Regions from separate parts of the Homo sapiens genome. Here regions 1, 2, 3, 4 and 6 are each linked to region 5. Evidence: promoter capture Hi-C in 16 types of primary human blood cells and fetal thymus (Javierre and others, 2016). All regions are on one chromosome and are shown on one strand. The core of a region is centred on a gene start or on the middle of the fragment in contact, and the rest is flanking DNA. Distances in the headings are between cores, read along the strand shown.

Region 1 (2,700 bases), core at 178-2,677, 460 kb before region 5:
TGCTTTCGTATCTTGTCCATACATGTAAAATCTGAATGTAAAAAAAAAGTGTAGGGTTCTGAATCCGAACAAGTTGTTCCAGATAGCCTATCATTAATTCTTAAAATTTTATAAAAACTTTGTATAGGGCCGGGCGCGGTGGCTCACACCTGTAATCCCAGCACTTTGGGAGGCCTAGGTGGGTGGATCACGAGGTCAGGAGATCGAGACCATCCTGACTAACACGGTGAAACCCCATCTCTACTAAAAATACAAAAAATTAGCCGGGTGTGGTGGCAGGCGCCTCTAGTCCCAGCTACTCGGGAGGCTGAGGCAGGAGAATGGCATGAACCCAGGAGGCGGACCTTGCAGTGAGCTGAGATCGTGCCTCTGCACTCTAACCTGGGTGAGACTCCGTCTCAAAAGAAAAAAAAAAACTTTGTATACATGAGGTAGAATAATAATAAGGTGGCTTTACCAACAATTTCATGTGACACAGAAATCAAAGATGATGGTTTGAAAGATGGTGACAAATCAAAGATCTTTGACTGTAGCTGCAAAAAAGCTTTTTAAAAAGAAGGTGAAAGAATCACTTGGGAAAAGGCTGCTTTGGCTCTTGATTCAATAATTAATTTTTTACGAAGGCAGCTATGTTACATTGCCCTGGGGAGTACAGAATGACATCTTTTTTTTTTTAAGTCATATTTCTTAATGAGCAAAAAGCAAATGTTTAAAAAGCAAGTTTATATAAAAGCCTTCTCAAGAAAACAAGTACCCAGATTCTGCCACTATTTGGTCCCAGGTTCTACCACAAATTACAATGACAACAATAACAAAATGAGTGCCCATTATGTCAATTTTCATTACAAAATATTTAAATAACATTTAGTAATACTGACTAAGGCTGAGAAGGTGATTTTAATTCAAAATTTCTACAGGAAACAATTCAAATCCAATAATTAAAAGGATAAGCTTCATTTATCTGGAAATTAATTAGTATCCTCTATGATGTAGGATAACAGCATTATTGCATACGTTAATTATTCATTGAACTACTTATGTCTATGATGCTGACATACATCTAACACCACAACTAATGTAAATACTAAATTGGAATACATTTGATCCTATAAAGAATAATTCAGTATACTACATTAATAATTCACAAATATATTATTATTCTGGTAGTAATTAAGCCTGGGGACTTTCCCTACGAAATTCATGATTCCAAAGTTTACCTGCCATCATGTGCCCAAAAACTCCTTGAAAGCATTCTGATCATAGTCCTTGATATTTGAGTTGGATTCTGTAGAAACACTTAGGCTCCACAAACGGAAGTCACTGGAGAGCAGACAACAGATGAACTCCTTGGAATGTTAAGAAAAAAATCTGAAAACAGGTTTGTTTGTATGGGAAAATATCTGACCTAAAAAACAAATGTTTTCTCATTACAGAAGCAATACAGGTTCATTTTCCAGTAAATATTTTAAAGTATCTCCTTTTTTCATGCTACTGAGCCAGGGCTCATGGGACTTAATTGCAATTTTCTAAAAAAGAATCATTGATTTAGTAGCACTACACCCTCCTTTCCCTTTCTCCCCACTTTTTCCATGCTTTCCTAATTATAGTTTGCTTATGTCACTTTTCCCCACTCTGTACTCTTGTGGACACTAGTTCTGAAAGATGTTAACACATATTCTGGAGAAAAAAAGGTTCTCTTGTCAAATAAGTTTGGGAAATGCTTCTTCTCTCAAAGATTACAGTGCATATTTAGCAAACGTTCCCAGGAGATCCTTCAGTAAAGAAATCTGCATAAACCATAGCTTCCTGTCTTTACTTTGCCATAAATCCTTTTGTGGAAGAAAGTTTGGGGAAACATTAATGGGCTAATCTGTTAACATCAGTGTACATTCCCTAAGCTTATTAGCTAAAGATAAGGAGAGAGGTCTAGGAACCCATCACTGAAGGGGCTAATCTAGAGTGAAGAAAGCAGAAACTACGAGCTGGCAGTACCTGAACTTCTAAAAGCAGAAGGAAGATTAACAGAATTTAAGAAACAGAATATTTAAGATATAATACTGAACCATTTTATGGAATAAATTAGATTGAACAGATTTATTTTTTCTTCCAATCTGTAATTTGTTATGATAAAAACAATATATGCTCATTGTATAATACATGGACCATTCAGAAAAGTTTAAAAAGGAGGGGGAAAAAAGCTATAATTCCATTATTTAAAAGCAAGCAATTTTGACATTTTGGCTTATTTCCTTGAATTCTTTTTTCTTGTGAGACCAATTAAGCATAAAGAGAAAATTTTAAAGTTTTAAAGATCTGTAAAAAATTAACAACCTACACTGTTTTTCACTATACCATATTTGAAAATAAACATGGTGAAGATGAAATAGCATGAGCTGCTGAACTGTCAAATGTGGGCTACAATTCAGACTTTTCCACTCACTAGGTATGTTACCTGGTTTAAAAAAATCTAATTTAGCTTAAGTTCTCCCACTGTAAAATCTGGATAATGCCAGCTACCTCATGTTTTTACTGCCAGGAGTAAAAGGTATGAAAACAACATACACTGAACTTAATGAAAAGAAATATTAACTGCTTCCTAGTATTACTCAGAACTTTTCATGTTAGAAGAAGTACATTTCTAAAAATGAGAGGTGGGAACACTTTTTTTAAAGAACACTATTTTTTTAAGAAAAAGGGGAG
Region 2 (2,938 bases), core at 376-2,875, 260 kb before region 5:
GGGTCTTGCTATGTTGACCAGGCTGGTCTTGAACTCCTGAGCTCAAGTAATCCTCCCACCTCAGCCTCCCAAGTAGCTGGGACCACAGGCATGCACCACTGCACCCAACTTAGGTAGATCAGATTCTGATCCACTGTCCACTTTTATCTCTTGGGCTCATGCTGATCAAAGTTCTGAGGTTAGGCAGGAGCAGTTGGTTGGTTCTGGCTGAGAATCCTTCAAAGCATTAGTTAGCATCACATCTAGGGATACATGTGGACTGGGAGTCACAGCGTTCATTACTCTCTTACTTTTAGAGACTGGAGAATGGACATTTGGGGGAATTTGTTCTTGATAAAGTGTTGTGTAAGCCAACGAAATGAGGGATGCAGAACTGCCTGCCTCACCCTTTTCTTTTTACTCTTTCCCTTAGGAGTGGAAGCAAAAATTCCAGACTCTGCCTTCTGTAAAAGCCACAGTGAGGCATTACGACTTGGAAGGAAAGTTCAGACTCACATTCCTATAATTCTGAACAGACCTTTTATTTTTAAAGCAATATCTGTGCTGCATAATCTCTTTTCTAAATATGTAATTGCTCTGATAATGTACTGAATTTGGGGAAGATCATTATTTGGAGACCTAGAACTTCTGATGGTACCAGGACAGCATTCCCCCTTCTAAAGCTTTCAGATACATGGAACAAAACAAAAAGGAGTATAAATTAGAAAGATAACCGTGGCACTTTGGGAGGCTGAGAATGCAGGATTGCTTGAGGCCAGGAGTTCCAGACCAGCCTGGGCAACGTAATGAGATTTCATCTTCACAAAAAAATTTTAAAAATTAGCTAGGTGTGGTGGCATGTGCCTGTAGTCCCAGCTATGTGGAGGCCGAGGCAGGAGGATCGCTTGACCAGGAGTGAAACCCTCTCTCAAAAAAAAAAAAAAAAAAAAAGGTCACCGTGAGCTACCACTTGCCCCTGTGGTGAGAAGTTATTTGCATAATCATAATGTAAGTACTGATTACTCAGTTAACTAAAAATTGTTGTGAGATAACCTTTATCTTGGGAGGAAGGAGAAGTATGAGTTAAATCTTCATCTGTCATAACAAAGATTAGATAACATCAAAATTCATCTATCAAGAAGGAACAATTTAAGCACAATTTTTTATCAAGTAACTACCAAAGAAATAGCAAAAAGACATAAGTGATTGTCTCTTTAAGAGAGGAGGTGGGAGGGAGAAAGACAAAGAACTCTTGCTTAGATTATAAAACTTCTGTTTGTCACTATTTGATTTTTTAAAATTAGGTGCCTGTATTTACTATGTTAAAAGTGAAAAAATATATCTATATCTACACATATGGAGCCAAGAGAATATGGGTAAGCAGGATGTCTGTAATGATTATTTGAAATATCCTTGAGTGTTACAACTAAAGTGATGTTTTGGGAGAAAAGGATACAAGTGAAGTACAGTTATGTGTTGCTTAACGACACGGATTCCTTCTGAGAAATGCATCGTTAGTCGATTTCATCATTTTGTGAACATCATAGATTTTACTTCCACAAACCTAGATGGTATAGCTCACTACCCACCTAAACTGTATAGTATGGCCTATTTTTCCTAGGCTACAAACCTGCACTGAATACTGTAGGCAGTTGTGATACACTGGTAAGTATTTGTGTATCTAAACTTACTAAAACGTAGAAAAGGTACACTAAAAATAGGGTGTGGGACCCTATGAGACCGCCATCGTATATACGGTCCATCATTGACCAAAACGTCCTTATGTGGCACATGACTATGAATGAATTCTTAGATGAAATAAAGGAATCACTGCTCTCACTAACTTTATTTGGCCTGCATTTTGCATCTTTAGTTTTCTGTTATTCACAGGTGTTTGGTACTTCAGATCAGGGGTTGGCAACCTTTTTCTGGAAAATGCGTGATGGTAAAACTTTTAGACTTTGCAGGTCACATGGTTTCTGTTATAACTACTCAACTCTGCCATTCTCGTGTGGAATCCACCATAAACCATATGTAAATGAATGTGACTGTGTTCCAATATAACTTTATTCATGGACACCAAAATTTGAATTTCATGCCATTTTTGTGGCCGTGAAATATTCTTTTTTTTTTTTTCATTCATTAACAATGTAAAAAGCATTCTTAGCTCATGGACCATACAAAAACAGATGGTGGGTAGGATTTGGCCAGCAAGCCATAATTTGCAAACCCCTGCTTCAGATCTAACACATTTGTGTGGTTCCCTCCCATGCATAGCAAAGAGCTCCAGCCATCTGGGCTGCAAAGAGGAATTTACATGGAGCAGGTAAGCATCAGTTCCCCCAGCATTTGCAACTATGGAAATTTTGTCTTAAAGGGCTTCAAGGTCTTGATGGGCTCTAAGGAGTTAAACTTCATGCTTCTCCTTTTCCTCTACCCTATTCTCATTTGTTTTTACTGTCTAAGTATAGGAACATCCCTATGAAGCTCTATTTCGGTGAGTATTACATTGTTGGAAATTTCATTACCAAGACAAAAATAATGTAGGAGGTCATAGACATAGAGATGTGGGCTCTGAGTTGGGCCCCTTGGCATCAAAAGAAGCTTCTGAAGGGTTGGACATAAAGGAGATTTCATGAATGTCAGGCCCTGTCTCCACCCACAGGTGACCAGGCCAGGTGAGTCCTGGAAGTGAGGTCCTGCCTGCCCTGAGAAGACTCCCTAGAAGACAGCACCCATAGCTTCCTTCCTTGTCACCAGTAGTTGCCATTGATGGGGAGAACGCAGATCTTCCAAGTGCCTTTGTTAAGGCTTTGTTTCCTTAGGTTTAACTGTGTTGCATGCTGGAGTATAAATATGAGTGAGACTTCCCCGTCCTCAAGTCTAGGGAGAGATATATGTAATGTAAACAAATATTTGAAGCACACTGAATAAAAGCTCTATTATAGGTTGATCCCAT
Region 3 (2,835 bases), core at 284-2,783, 320 kb before region 5:
CTTCAGCTTCAAGGAACAGTTTGCTGACAGCCTCCAGCTGTTAGTGCTGTCAGGCTTTGCCTCCACGGAGGCCATACTTATCCCATGCTGCGTGTCCTTTCATTTTGGTGTCATCTCTTTCTCCCCTTCTACCCCTCCTCCACCACAGTAAACAGCTTTTTGAGGGCTGGGGCTGTTTATAAGTGAAGTAGTTTATAAAAAGTAGATGCACATCTTTCAGCTTCATATTTAGCATGTTGGAAATTCTGTTCACTGATCTAATTCTGAAATCTCCTTGGTATTTCTTAAACTAGTTGTATAGGCTGGGTGCAGTGGCTCATGCCTGTAATCCCAGCACTTTGGGAGGCTGAGGTGGGCAGATCACCAGGTCAGGAGATCGAGACCATCTTGGCTAACACGCTGAAACCCTGTCTCTACTAAAAATACAAAAAAAAAAAAAAAAATTAGCCGGGCGTGGTTGTGGGCGCCTGTAGTCCCAGCTACTCGGGAGGCTGAGGCAGGTGAATGGTGTGAACCCGGGAGGCAGAGCTTGCAGTGAGCGGAGATCATGCCACTGCACTCCAGCCTGGGCGACAGAGTGAGACTCCATCTCAAAAAAAAAAAAAACTAGTATGTCAACAAAGCTTTGTGCTGCTGTAATGGGAAGAACAGCTAGCCTGGGCTAGTAATATGCTAACTGGTTTATGAACTTAGGTAGGTGAGTCACTTGACTATTCTGGGTCTGTTCTGAAGGGAGAGGCAGTAGGACTAGGAGTTAAATTGTCATGCCGAGGTCTCTGAGCATGGGTGGGCCTGTCAGAATTGTCATCGCTCACTCTGTTGACTTCCAGCAGCTGACAGGCAAGGCCCTAGGAAGCTCTTCAGCCTCCTTTCCTTGCTAGAGGTGCTGTTTTCCCTGGAAATGTTCAAGCCCTGCAAATCGTTTCTATAGTAACAGGTCTCTGTCTTTTTTCTTATGATGCAGATTTTTGAAAAGGTTTCTTATCTAAATGTTCTTGGGATCTATGGTCTTCCTACCTGTAGCTCCTTTGATTAGACAGAGCCTTTATTTAAAGACTTTTCCCCCCAAGAATGTTGTTGTTGCTTCTACCAAAATAATAACCAGTTGTTAGTTTTACTAGTGCTTGAAGTTTTAGTTTATTAATAAAGCTTCATATAAACTAGAAAAGGAGTGGTTGGGTAGAATAGTAATACCGAAAAAACTAATATTCACTGTTAGTCTCATGTATTTGTAAACTTTAATTTTTTATTATGTAAAACCTTCAAACATAAAAGTAGTCAAAATTATATAATAGACACCTATATACTTACCACCTAGATTGAAAACTAACATTCTGCCATATTGGCGTAGTTTATTCGTTTACTGATAGTAAATCAGAGACATGTATTTAGAGGTGAAATGTCACCCTAAAAAGCGTTTTTCTTAATGATTTACACCACCCTTAGTAAAATTAGCTATTCATTCCTTCATATCATCTAATACCTAATATATATTCACATTTCCTCAGGTGTCTCAAATGTCTTTTACTAATGATTTTTTCCAACAAGGATCCACTCAAGGTCCATACATTTGCATTTGATTATTACGTTTTAATCTGGAATAGCGCCTACCGCCCCCAACCCCTGCCACTGCTTTATCAGAGAGGTCAGTTGTCCTGTAAGATACTCTACCTTTATGATTTGTATGATTTTTGTTTGTTTGTTTTCATTTAACTTCTATATTTCTCATATTCCTGGTAACTGCAAGTCAGGTCTAAAGACCTCACTAAATTCCTGGAAAACATTTTTAGCAGGAATGCTCTGTACTTCATGCACTGTCACAACTGGGAGACACTAAGTATTTGGATCTTGAAGATTTAAAGACTTCTAATTGGTTTTTAAAAGCCCTGTTTCACTGGTTTTCTAGGATAAGCTTCTCTAGAGAAGTTCCTTTTTAAAAAATGTTTTATTAGTTTGAAGATTTAATGGGATTTTCCTTTCCCCTGAAATTCTTCCAGTTTGATTTCAAAAAGAAAAGGTCAACATAGCATTACATTTCTGAATTTTCCCTCAAATAAGCCAAATAAATAGTTGGTGAAACAGTATTTTGTGACTGATGCGCACCACTTTGGTTCTGGCAGTCTCTGGGCATTAGGCCACTCTTTCTGCTCTGCTCTCCTGGCTGACAGTTTATAATGGATTTTACTTTTCTTTTAAAAAATCAGATTTGCTGTCTTTTGCTGTCATCAGCTCTGGGCCTTGTCACCACATGGCAGACTTCAACCTACAATAACCCCTGATGCGTGTTTCCTGAAGGGGACCTCTCCCCTTCAGTCCACACTTCTAGTAGGTTGAGTTCAGCCCAAGATTAAGGCTCTGGTCTGGAGTCAGAAGATGGGTCAAAATCTAGCTCTCCCACCGGCTGGTTGGCTCTTCTTCAGCAGTCAGCTAGTGTTTCCAAATGACAGTATCTGTGTCCTCATCTGTAAAGTCGGGACAATAACTGGTGTTTTTTTTGTTTTGTTTTGTTTTTTGAGACAGTTTCACTCTGTCACCCAGGCTAGAGTGCAGTGGCGCGATCTCGGCTCACTGCAAGCTCCGCTTCCCGGGTTCACGCCATTCTCCTGCCTCAGCCCCCCGAGCAGCTGGGACTACAGGCACCCACCACCGCGCCCGGCTAATTTTTTGTATTTTTAGTAGAGACGGGGTTTCACTGTGTTAGCCAGGATGGTCTCAATCTCCTGACCTCGTGATCCACCGGCCTCGGCCTCCCAAAGTGCGGGGATTACAGGCATGAGCCACCGCGCCCGGCCTATAACTGGTTTTGACTAATGCGAGTTGTGGTAGGGCTTGAAA
Region 4 (2,885 bases), core at 325-2,824, 290 kb before region 5:
TACTGCCTTTTTTATTTGGGTTTTAGGAGAGGTGATGTACATACACGTTCATCTGTGTTTAACTGGAAGTCAACATGGGGGTTTGTGTTCAGATATCTCTGGTAGGCCCCAGCCACCAATATTTTATTGCCCTTAAATATCCTTGTTGTTTCTTCGTATAAAGTTAGTGAATTTTGAGTGATGGAGGAAATACTGGGAGGTGTGTGTGTGTGTGGAGAGAGAGAGAAAGTTAAGAACAAGATGAAGGGGTCGGGTAAAGTGTTCCTACTCTTTTTTTTTTTCAAAAATAATCAAGCTAAGTTTGAATAACTTGAGGTTATAGTGACCATATCATAATTGAAATAAATGAGTCTCGGCCGGGTGCCGTCTTTCACACTTGTAATCCCAGCACTTTGGGAGGCTGAGGCGGGCGGATCACTTGAGGTCAGGAGTTTGAGACCAGCCTCACCAACATGGTGAAACCCCATCTCTACTAAAAATACAAAGATTAGCTGGGCGTGGTGGCGCACACCTGTAATCCCAGCTAATCAGGAGGCTGAGGCAGGAGAATTACTTGAACCCGGGAGGCAGAGCTTGCAGTGAGCCGAGATTGTGCCATTGCACTCCAGCCTGGGCGATGGAGTAAGACCCTATCTCAAAAAAATAAAAATAAAAGAAGAGGAATAAATGAGTCTCTGTGACCAGTTGACTGTGCTGTGGCTCTGATGTGTTCCTGTTTCTTTATGCAGGCCCTGGGATTTAACACAGTTGTGAAATGGTGGTCCTGATATTTCTCAATTCTGTGTTGGAATCTGTAAAAAAAAAACTACTCCAGCAATCTGACAACTGCCCTCTAAAGTTGTTCCTGTTACTTTGTTTTCACTTCCACTTTCTCATTCATTTCCTCTGGGGATCAATAAGAAAGTGGGTAGAAGAGACAAATTTAACTTCCCCAGTTTCTGACCTCATTCCTGCTCAGCTATTTTGCTATTAGATAGGGCTGCTTGGCACCATGAAAGAATATTATATCATAGCTGTAATTGCTTCACTGGAATAAGGCTCTTAGCACAAATCCAGAAACATTCTGGCTGCTTGCGTGTGATCCATCCCTGGTGGCAGTGCTGAAAAGTTGCTGAGAAAAAGTGTGTTGGTAGTGATTGGGAGTAATTAATCTTACTATAATTTTTATTAACGACTCCCTTCCCAGTAACTTACCCTCAACTAATGATGTATTAAACCAATTTCATGTCAACTGTGAGTAAAAGTATCTTTACTAAAATTGGTTATTCTTATGGTTTTATAATATACAGTCTAAGTAAAATCAGCATGCTTACTGTGCAAACATAGCTGTAGGCCCAGTCCCCTGGGCCTCCCTGTCAGCAAGATTGCTAACCCTATACCTTGCCCATATAGAAATTCCAGCACTGCTGATGCCTATAACAGACTGTCCATATGTGAAAGGTGTAATGGATAGTTTCATAGTGTAAAAAAGCTTGGCAGATCACATTAGGCCTTGGTCTTAATGTAACAGCCTTCTCTGAAAAACCAACTGTTGATCATGATTAACACTTTATGGGAAATGGACTCTTGAGTGATTCAGTGAGATCATACAATAAATGGCAACCTGGTGGTAGAAGGAAATAATCTTAGTTATTTCCTTTCCAAGTGAAAGGAAAAGATCTCAAATAATTAAGCTTTTATGAAACAATACAAAGGAGTTGATTATTAGCATGGGGATTTGTCCTTAGACTAATAGGATTAAAATTTAAGAATAAAATGGAACATGAAGCCAAAGAACCAAGTGTATGTTGCTTTCAAATATTTTGCAAAAAATTTGAATAAAGAGTCTATTAAATAGAAAAGAAGACTAAGATTTTATCCAACTACTTATTCCTTATAAGAAGTAAGAATATTTAGAGAATGAAGAGGAATAAAAGCTGAATGTCTTAGCAAAACTTCACTGCTCATTTTAATCTTATATATGAAGTTTGTTATATGCTTGCCTTTAAATGAATGACCTTTCAGTGCCAGTGAAGTCAAATATCAAGCAGTAAAGCCTTAAGTAACAAGAAAATGCCAGAAGTGAGTTGATCTGGCTCAACTCTAGTAGAATTCTAGAATAAACTTAGTTTGAATAGAACTTTCTTTTGTTGCTGAAAAGCCATTGAACATGTATTCATTTTCTTCCCTTAGAAATAACTGAGCCTCGGCTGGGTGAGGTGGCTCATGCCTGTAATCTCAGCACTTTGGGAGGCCGAGGTGGGCAGATCACTTGAGGTCAGGAGTTCCAGACCAGCCTGGCCAACATGGTGAAACCCCATCTCTACTAAAAATACCAAAATTAGCAGGGCATGGTAGCATGCGCCTGTAATCCCAGCTACTTCGGAGGCTGAGATGGAAGAATCGCTTGAACCTGGGAGGCGGAGGTTGCAGTGAGCCGAGATTTCACCACTGCACTCCAGTCTCGTGACAGAGCAAGACTCTGTGTCACTAAAAATAAATAAATAAATAAATAATTGAGTGAATGTACGAAATCTTGAATTTAGAGTTGTAGTATCTCAGGTAGCCATGGCTGACCTGTTGGGTGGGCACTGTGCCAGCTACTGTGGAGGCTAAAGAAGCAGGACATGGCAGCCACCCTCAAGGAGAGTGCACAGGGCAAGACTGCAAGTGCCATGGAAATGCCTGCTGTAGCTCCAAGTTCAGAGGAGCCATGATGGCTGTGGCCTGGCAGGTGAATAGACCTGGAGGTGGAGGGATGAGCAGAATTCTAAATGGGGGAGAAGTTTCTCTAGGTATAGTTAATGCATGAGCAAAGACCAGTCAGAGGGTAGGAGCAAGGCCTATTCCAGTGGATGGGAACCAGATTGACTGATGGAAGTAAGAGTAAGTGAGGTGAGTATTAG
Region 5 (2,700 bases), core at 192-2,691:
ACACAGCCTTATCCAAGCTTGGCTTCTGAAGGGCAGTCCCGGGCATCTATCATGTGTTGCTGAAATCCAGCGAGCCACGTTGCCCAAAAGAAGGAGGAGGAAGGAAAAAACACACACACCCAGAAAATCCAGACTCTACGTGACCTGACTTACTTATTTCCCAGGAAACTGCATGAGAGAAAAATCAATCATTCATGCTACCGTAGCTACCACACGGAAAGGGCTGACGGAGTTCACAGTGGGCAAAATCCCAAAGCGGCCGGCGGAGGTAAGTAGGTGGGGGGCGGTAGTGGGGGGACACCCGGAGGGGGTGGATTCCGAGGGCCTCGGGGCCACGCCGTCCAGGTCCCGGCGCGGCTGGCAGGGACTGGCCTCGGCCTGGCCCGAGGCAGAGAAGCGGAGGGAGGAGCGGGGGTTGGGCAGGCGGGACGGCGGCGGCGGCCGCCGCACACTTACCGGGGCTGTTGGCCTCGCGTTCGAGGACGTGCAGCTCGGCGCAGTCGGCCAGCGAGTGCTCCAGGCAGAGCTGGAGGAAGCGGGCCTGGGTCTGGCTCACGCGCTTGAGCAGCGACAGCAGCGCAACAGTCTGCTCGCACTCGTTCCAGCCCTTAAACCAGCCCGCCAGCACCCCGACCTGGTCGCGAAACATCATGGTTAGGGGGCCGCCCTCGGTCTACAGAGCCCCCTGGGCGCCCCAGCCCGCCCCGCCCGCCCCAAAGTTTGGCGGAGCCGCAGCCCCGCGGCCGGAGACGCGTTCCTGTTCCAAGGTGGCTCTGGTGCCCGGACGCTGCAGGTACTGCCTGGGCTCCTGCCTCTCTTGTCTGGTTTCAGTTACGTTCCGGTGGTTCTGGCTGATTTCCCCAGAGACGATGACAGACAGTAGCACGGAAATGTTTCTTTAAAAAAAAAAACGACTTTTTAAAAATCCCCCACAAGGCACACAACTGAATGAAGAATGCTTTCTCCCCCCTTCTTGCAGCTTTGGGATGGTGATTTCCGGCGTCCTGGGGTCTCCTCCCCGCTGGGCGGCAACTCGGACCCTTCACGCCCGCATTCCCGAGCGGCGATCACCACTGGAAGGAGAGAAAGAGCTGCAGTGAGACCTCGGCTAGCGGAGGAGCGCGCCCTGGGGGGACGAGGGCATCAGAGGGTGCTGGGGCCAGGGGAGGGGGCGTCCCGCGGAAGGTTGGGTTCGCCGAAATCCAGCCGCCCCCTCCGCCCCCTCCGCACCCGATGTGGGAGATGGGCTATTCCCCACCGGGTAACAGCGAGAAGCCTGCTTCCCAGGTGCGGGAGGAGACCCCGCGGCTTCCTGTTGCTGCCGCTGCCAACGGCTGGTGCTCCCCTCACGGCCCGCCTGGGGTGGCCTCGGGCGCCGTGCTTAAGAACGCCAGCACCAGCAACAGATCTTCCCCGCGCAGAAAACTTGCAATGCGGCTGCGAAGGGGCGCGGGGGTGGGGGTGGGAGCTAATGCAAAGCAGAGGCGGAGGCAGCGGCAGCCCGAGTTCCTTCCTCCTCCTCTTACTCCTCCTCCTCCTCCCAGAGAAGCAGCCGAGCGGCTGCAGCTCCATCTACAGCAACAGCCAGCATCTCCACCGCCAGGCGCCCCTCTGGATTTAGGCCGTGAGCAGCCGCGGCAGCAGCTCGAGACAAAAATAAACTCTCTCCACCCAAAGCTCCGCGCCCAGCGGGCGGCGGCGCAACCCAGAGCCCCGGCTCCCCCGCGCCGCGCCGCACCAGCCCACCCGGGAGGTCTCCCTGGGCCTGCTCCGGCCGGAGCGGTCACTGTGCGCGCGCGTGTGCGTGTGTGTGTGCGCGCGTGTGTGGCAGGCATCCTGCCGCCGCCGCCTACGGGCTGGTCTGTCCGGCCCGGAGCCTCGCCCGCGCGTCGCAGGCCGAGGGCGGCACAGCGCTGGGCACACGCCCCGCGAGGGGACGGCCGGGGTCCGCAGCGCTGCTCCCTTCGGCCAGCGGGGCGGCCCCGCGGGGAATGCGGATCGGCGCCGCAGGCACACGCCCCCCAACGACAGCAAAGAAAGTTCGGCTGCGGGGGTTCCCCCAGTCCCATCCCGGTTCTCGTGGCCGCCGCCGGCGGGGAGGAGAACCCAGCGACTCAGCCTTCAAGGAGCCGCTAGCTTCCAACAACACGCTGCTTCCGGCTCCCAGAACTTCTCGGGCGGAGGGGGAAGCCCCCGGGGAGGGGACCCCCAGTGACCCGCGGGTCCCCCGCCGAGGGCCGTAGGGAGGGAGCGCTCACCTCGGCGCGGCTCATCCCGGCGGCTCGGGGGCCCTTGCGCGGGTCCGGGGCCGCGGCGGCTCTCAGCGGGGTTGGGGGCGCCCGGAGCGCCGGCCGCGGGCCATGCCGTCGGGGCGGGCGGCGCGGGGAGAGTGCGGTGCTTCGAGTCGGGGCCGCTGCAGCCGCCGCTGCTGCTGCCTCCAGTGTCGGCTCGCGGAGGACTGAGCCGCCCGAGCCGGAGCTCCCCACATGCTACTGATTAACATACACCATTACATCATGGGCTTGGCAGGGAGCGCCCGAGCGGGGGGAGAGGAACCCGGGCGGCGGCGACGGCACGCGGGGGGAGCCGGGGGGAGGAACCCCGGACCCGGCGCAGGGCGGGGGGACGGATTCCTAAGTGGGGACCAGAAAAAGGGGAGGGGAGCGGAGTGGGAGGAGCTGGTGGCGCAGAGGGGTCGGG
Region 6 (2,978 bases), core at 159-2,658, 350 kb before region 5:
AACTTGTACACAGTATTGGTTGGCTCAAGGCAATGAGAGAGCCAAATGATGAAGCAGGAATTAATATCTAGGGGGTCTGGTTGAAGGGCGTATGGGAATTCTTTGACTATTTTTGCAAATTTTCTTTAAATCTGAAATTGTAAAATAGAATTTTTTTTTAAGCCCTGGAAAATCTAGTAGTATTTCTTCCCTTTTGCACTAGGCATTTCAGCATGTTTGAAAAGCAGCTTACAGTGAATTAGAAATGTGGGATTCATTACAAAATTTTGTTTGGAATAATATTTAGACATTTGAGGGCTAAAGGAAAATAACATGTCCTGCTCTTTGTAGAAAACCAGCTGTGTGTTGTCTGATAGAGTTTTCAAGATGTGCTGGGCGATTGAGAGGTGCAGGCCAGCCAAGCTTGCCTGGAGGCAGAGCTGACTGAGGTGGGGAAGAGAGCCGCTGTGTTGTCTGACCGTGGCTCTGCCAGAGAGGGAGGCTGGCAGTTCCTGACAAAGGCAAGCTTGGCACTGCTGAATCAAGAGATAACATTTTCCATGGATTGTACATGGCTTATATTTCTTTTCTTTTCTTTTCTTTTTTTAATATAGAGAAAGGGTTTCACCATGTTGCCCAGGCTGATCTTGAACTCCAGAGCTCAAGTGATCCACCCAAAGTGCTGGGATTATAGGCATGGGCCACTGCACCCAGTCAACTTATATTTCTTTAGGCTACCCCTACACATGGCCTCTAATTTGATAACTGGCAGTAAAAGTCCAACGCTTTCTTTTTCATTTGTTTTGACAGGAAATGATTCTTGTTTAAAACATACATTTCCTGGCCGGGCTCAGTGGCTCACACCTGTAATCCTAGCACTTTGGGAGGCCGAGGCAGGCGGATCACCTGAGGTTGGGAGTTCGAAACCAGCCTGACCAACATGGAGAAACCCTGTCTCTACTAAAAACACAAAATTAGCCAGGTGTGGTGGTGCATGCCTGTAATCCCAGCTACTCGGGAGGCTGAGGCAGGAGAATCGCTTGAACCCCGGGCGGTGGAGGTTGCAGTGAGCCAAGATCGTGCATCTGTACTCCAGCCTGGGCAACAAGAGTGAAACTTTGTCTGAAAAAAACAAAAACAACAAAAAAACATACATTTCCTATGTTCCTTTATTGATTGCTCAGCATGTGAGAGGTCCTGAGCTTAGTTCTGTTTGAACTGGGTTTCATTATTATCCCCACTTTACAGATAAAGAGGCTGAGTTAAGAGAGGTTAAATAATTTACCTAAGGTCACATGCTTCAGATTTTTATCTAAGTACAGAATAGTATCTTAAAAAATATCTTAAAAACAGAATAATTTGTTTATCTATAACGGGTACAGATTTAAGACCCTGACAAAGGTCATCTTATTGTCCTTGAGTGATAGCCAATGATGAAGACTTCTGTTGTTAATAAGAGATTTTAATAAGAAGCTCTTTTTGTAAACTATGAAAATTTTGTTGTAACATGGAAAAATTCATATAGTGCTAATAATAACAATAAAAGAAAAAAGGAGGTTACCAGTGAAATGTAAAGATGTAAAATAAGGCCAGGCATGGCGGCTTGTGCCTGTAATCCCACCGCTTTGGGAAGCTGAGGTGGGCAGATCCCTTGAGCCCAGGAGTTTGAGACAAGCCTGGGCAATATAGTGAGACCCCGTTTCTAAAAATAGTTAAAAAAAATTAGCTGGGGGTGGTGGCATGCGCCTGTGGTCCCAGCTACCCAGGAGGCTGAGGCAGGAGGATTGCTTGAGCCTGGGAGGTCAAGGCTTCAGTGAGCCATCATTGTGCCACTGCACTCCAGCCTGGGTGACTAAAAGAGACCCTGTCTCAAAAAGAAAAAAAGCCCGGGCGCGGTGACTCACACCTGTAATCCCAGCACTTTGGGAGGCCGAGGTGGGCAGATCACGAGGTCAGGAGATCGAGACCATCCTGGCTAACACAGTGAAACCCCGCCTCTACTAAAAATACAAAAATTAGCCAGGCGTGATGGCGGGCGCCTGTTGTCCCAGCTACTCAGGAGGCTGAGGCAGGAGAATGGTGTGAACCTGGGAGGCGGAGCTTGCAGTGAGCCGAGATTTTGCCACCGCACTCTAGCCTGGGCGACAGAGCGAGACTCCGTCTCTAAAAAAAAAAAAAAAAAAAAAGTAAAATAAAATATAACTGTACATAGGAAAACTGATTTTTAAAAATACAGCAAAATGATTATAACATTTTAATCCAGTTTAAAATAATTGTCTTTATTTTTCTAATTAAAAACAGTATATTATTGTTAAACATATGATAAGCTTGCTTAGCAATCACAAAAACCCACTTAATTGAATATCAAAGTGAATGTCCCGCCTGTGGAGATTCAAACAACATAAATTTTTTTAAAAATCAGTCTTGGAAGGAAAAAGGGAATTTAAAATAAATAATATTTACACTTAAAACGAAAAATTCATACACTATTTGCTAAAAGGTTTGGCAATAACTTGACTGTTGTTTTGCCTTAAAGGTGCTTGCCAGCCTGCTCTCAGTGGGAAGAAAGAAAATGTCAGGTTAGACCCTTGTGTGGGAAAATCGGATTATTTCCCAGGTCTCTCTCTTGATTATCAACAATGATTGTTGAGTAAGGACTACTCCTTTCCCATAGGATCAGAAAACCCTGGAGATAAATCTCTTCTTCTGCTCTGTTTTCAAGGCACAAAAAAACCTATCCAACAGCCTTCAAAGAGAATGTGGCAGGCTCAGCTGATGGCTCTTTGCTTAGTATTATAAAATCCCAAGAGAAAGGCAGTGTATAAACCTAACATTTTCTCATTTCCCTTAAGCAGGCATAATACTAATATTTATGGAGGTCTGCAAAGAGCCACTTGATGCAGAAGCCAGGTGACTATAAATGACAGAGGAAATTCACCTGAATTGGTTCAAGATGTGTGTTGCTGGGAAACTATGTCTAGGGGCAAATAGTCTTATTG

Evidence for each region. Contacts are between HindIII fragments. The CHiCAGO score rates a contact against its expected background, and 5 or more counts as called.
Region 1: a contact is called between a fragment that was not itself captured here and the fragment with the promoter of SAMD4A in region 5, in 1 of 17 cell types (total CD8 T cells). The highest score is 5.6, in total CD8 T cells.
Region 2: a contact is called between a fragment that was not itself captured here and the fragment with the promoter of SAMD4A in region 5, in 6 of 17 cell types (megakaryocytes, M0 macrophages, M1 macrophages and 3 more). The highest score is 8.0, in megakaryocytes.
Region 3: a contact is called between a fragment that was not itself captured here and the fragment with the promoter of SAMD4A in region 5, in 16 of 17 cell types (total B cells, megakaryocytes, M1 macrophages and 13 more). The highest score is 12.9, in total B cells.
Region 4: a fragment that was not itself captured here is called in contact with the fragment with the promoter of SAMD4A in region 5 in 5 of 17 cell types (M1 macrophages, M0 macrophages, total B cells and 2 more); the score reaches 8.2 in M1 macrophages.
Region 6: a contact is called between a fragment that was not itself captured here and the fragment with the promoter of SAMD4A in region 5, in 1 of 17 cell types (M2 macrophages). The highest score is 5.0, in M2 macrophages.

What each region holds. Positions count from the first base shown.
Region 1 is chr14:55,030,509-55,033,208 of GRCh38, reverse strand. It overlaps SOCS4 (suppressor of cytokine signaling 4), which reads right to left. Exons shown (of 3, transcript NM_199421.2): 2 at 1,218-1,346. Among named protein-coding and RNA genes, the nearest start is that of SOCS4, 4.6 kb to the right of the region's middle. The HindIII fragment of the contact is 947 bases long and covers 954-1,900 here.
Region 2 is chr14:54,827,496-54,830,433 of GRCh38, reverse strand. No RefSeq gene overlaps it. Among named protein-coding and RNA genes, the nearest start is that of MIR4308, 49 kb to the left of the region's middle. The HindIII fragment of the contact is 1,921 bases long and covers 665-2,585 here.
Region 3 is chr14:54,886,288-54,889,122 of GRCh38, reverse strand. The region is part of intron 1 of GCH1 (GTP cyclohydrolase 1); the gene reads left to right. Among named protein-coding and RNA genes, the nearest start is that of MIR4308, 9.5 kb to the right of the region's middle. The HindIII fragment of the contact is 763 bases long and covers 1,152-1,914 here.
Region 4 is chr14:54,856,055-54,858,939 of GRCh38, reverse strand. All of the region lies in intron 3 of GCH1 (GTP cyclohydrolase 1), which reads left to right. Among named protein-coding and RNA genes, the nearest start is that of MIR4308, 21 kb to the left of the region's middle. The HindIII fragment of the contact is 202 bases long and covers 1,474-1,675 here.
Region 5 is chr14:54,565,869-54,568,568 of GRCh38, reverse strand. SAMD4A (sterile alpha motif domain containing 4A) reads right to left here and starts at 1,441. Exons shown (of 13, transcript NM_015589.6): 1 at 1,231-1,441; 2 at 457-1,073. The coding sequence starts at 652. RefSeq lists silencers at 410-469, 710-769, 1,610-1,799, 1,920-1,969, 2,530-2,659. The HindIII fragment of the contact is 5,259 bases long and covers 20-2,700 here.
Region 6 is chr14:54,920,216-54,923,193 of GRCh38, reverse strand. No RefSeq gene overlaps it. Among named protein-coding and RNA genes, the nearest start is that of GCH1, 19 kb to the right of the region's middle. The HindIII fragment of the contact is 1,801 bases long and covers 508-2,308 here.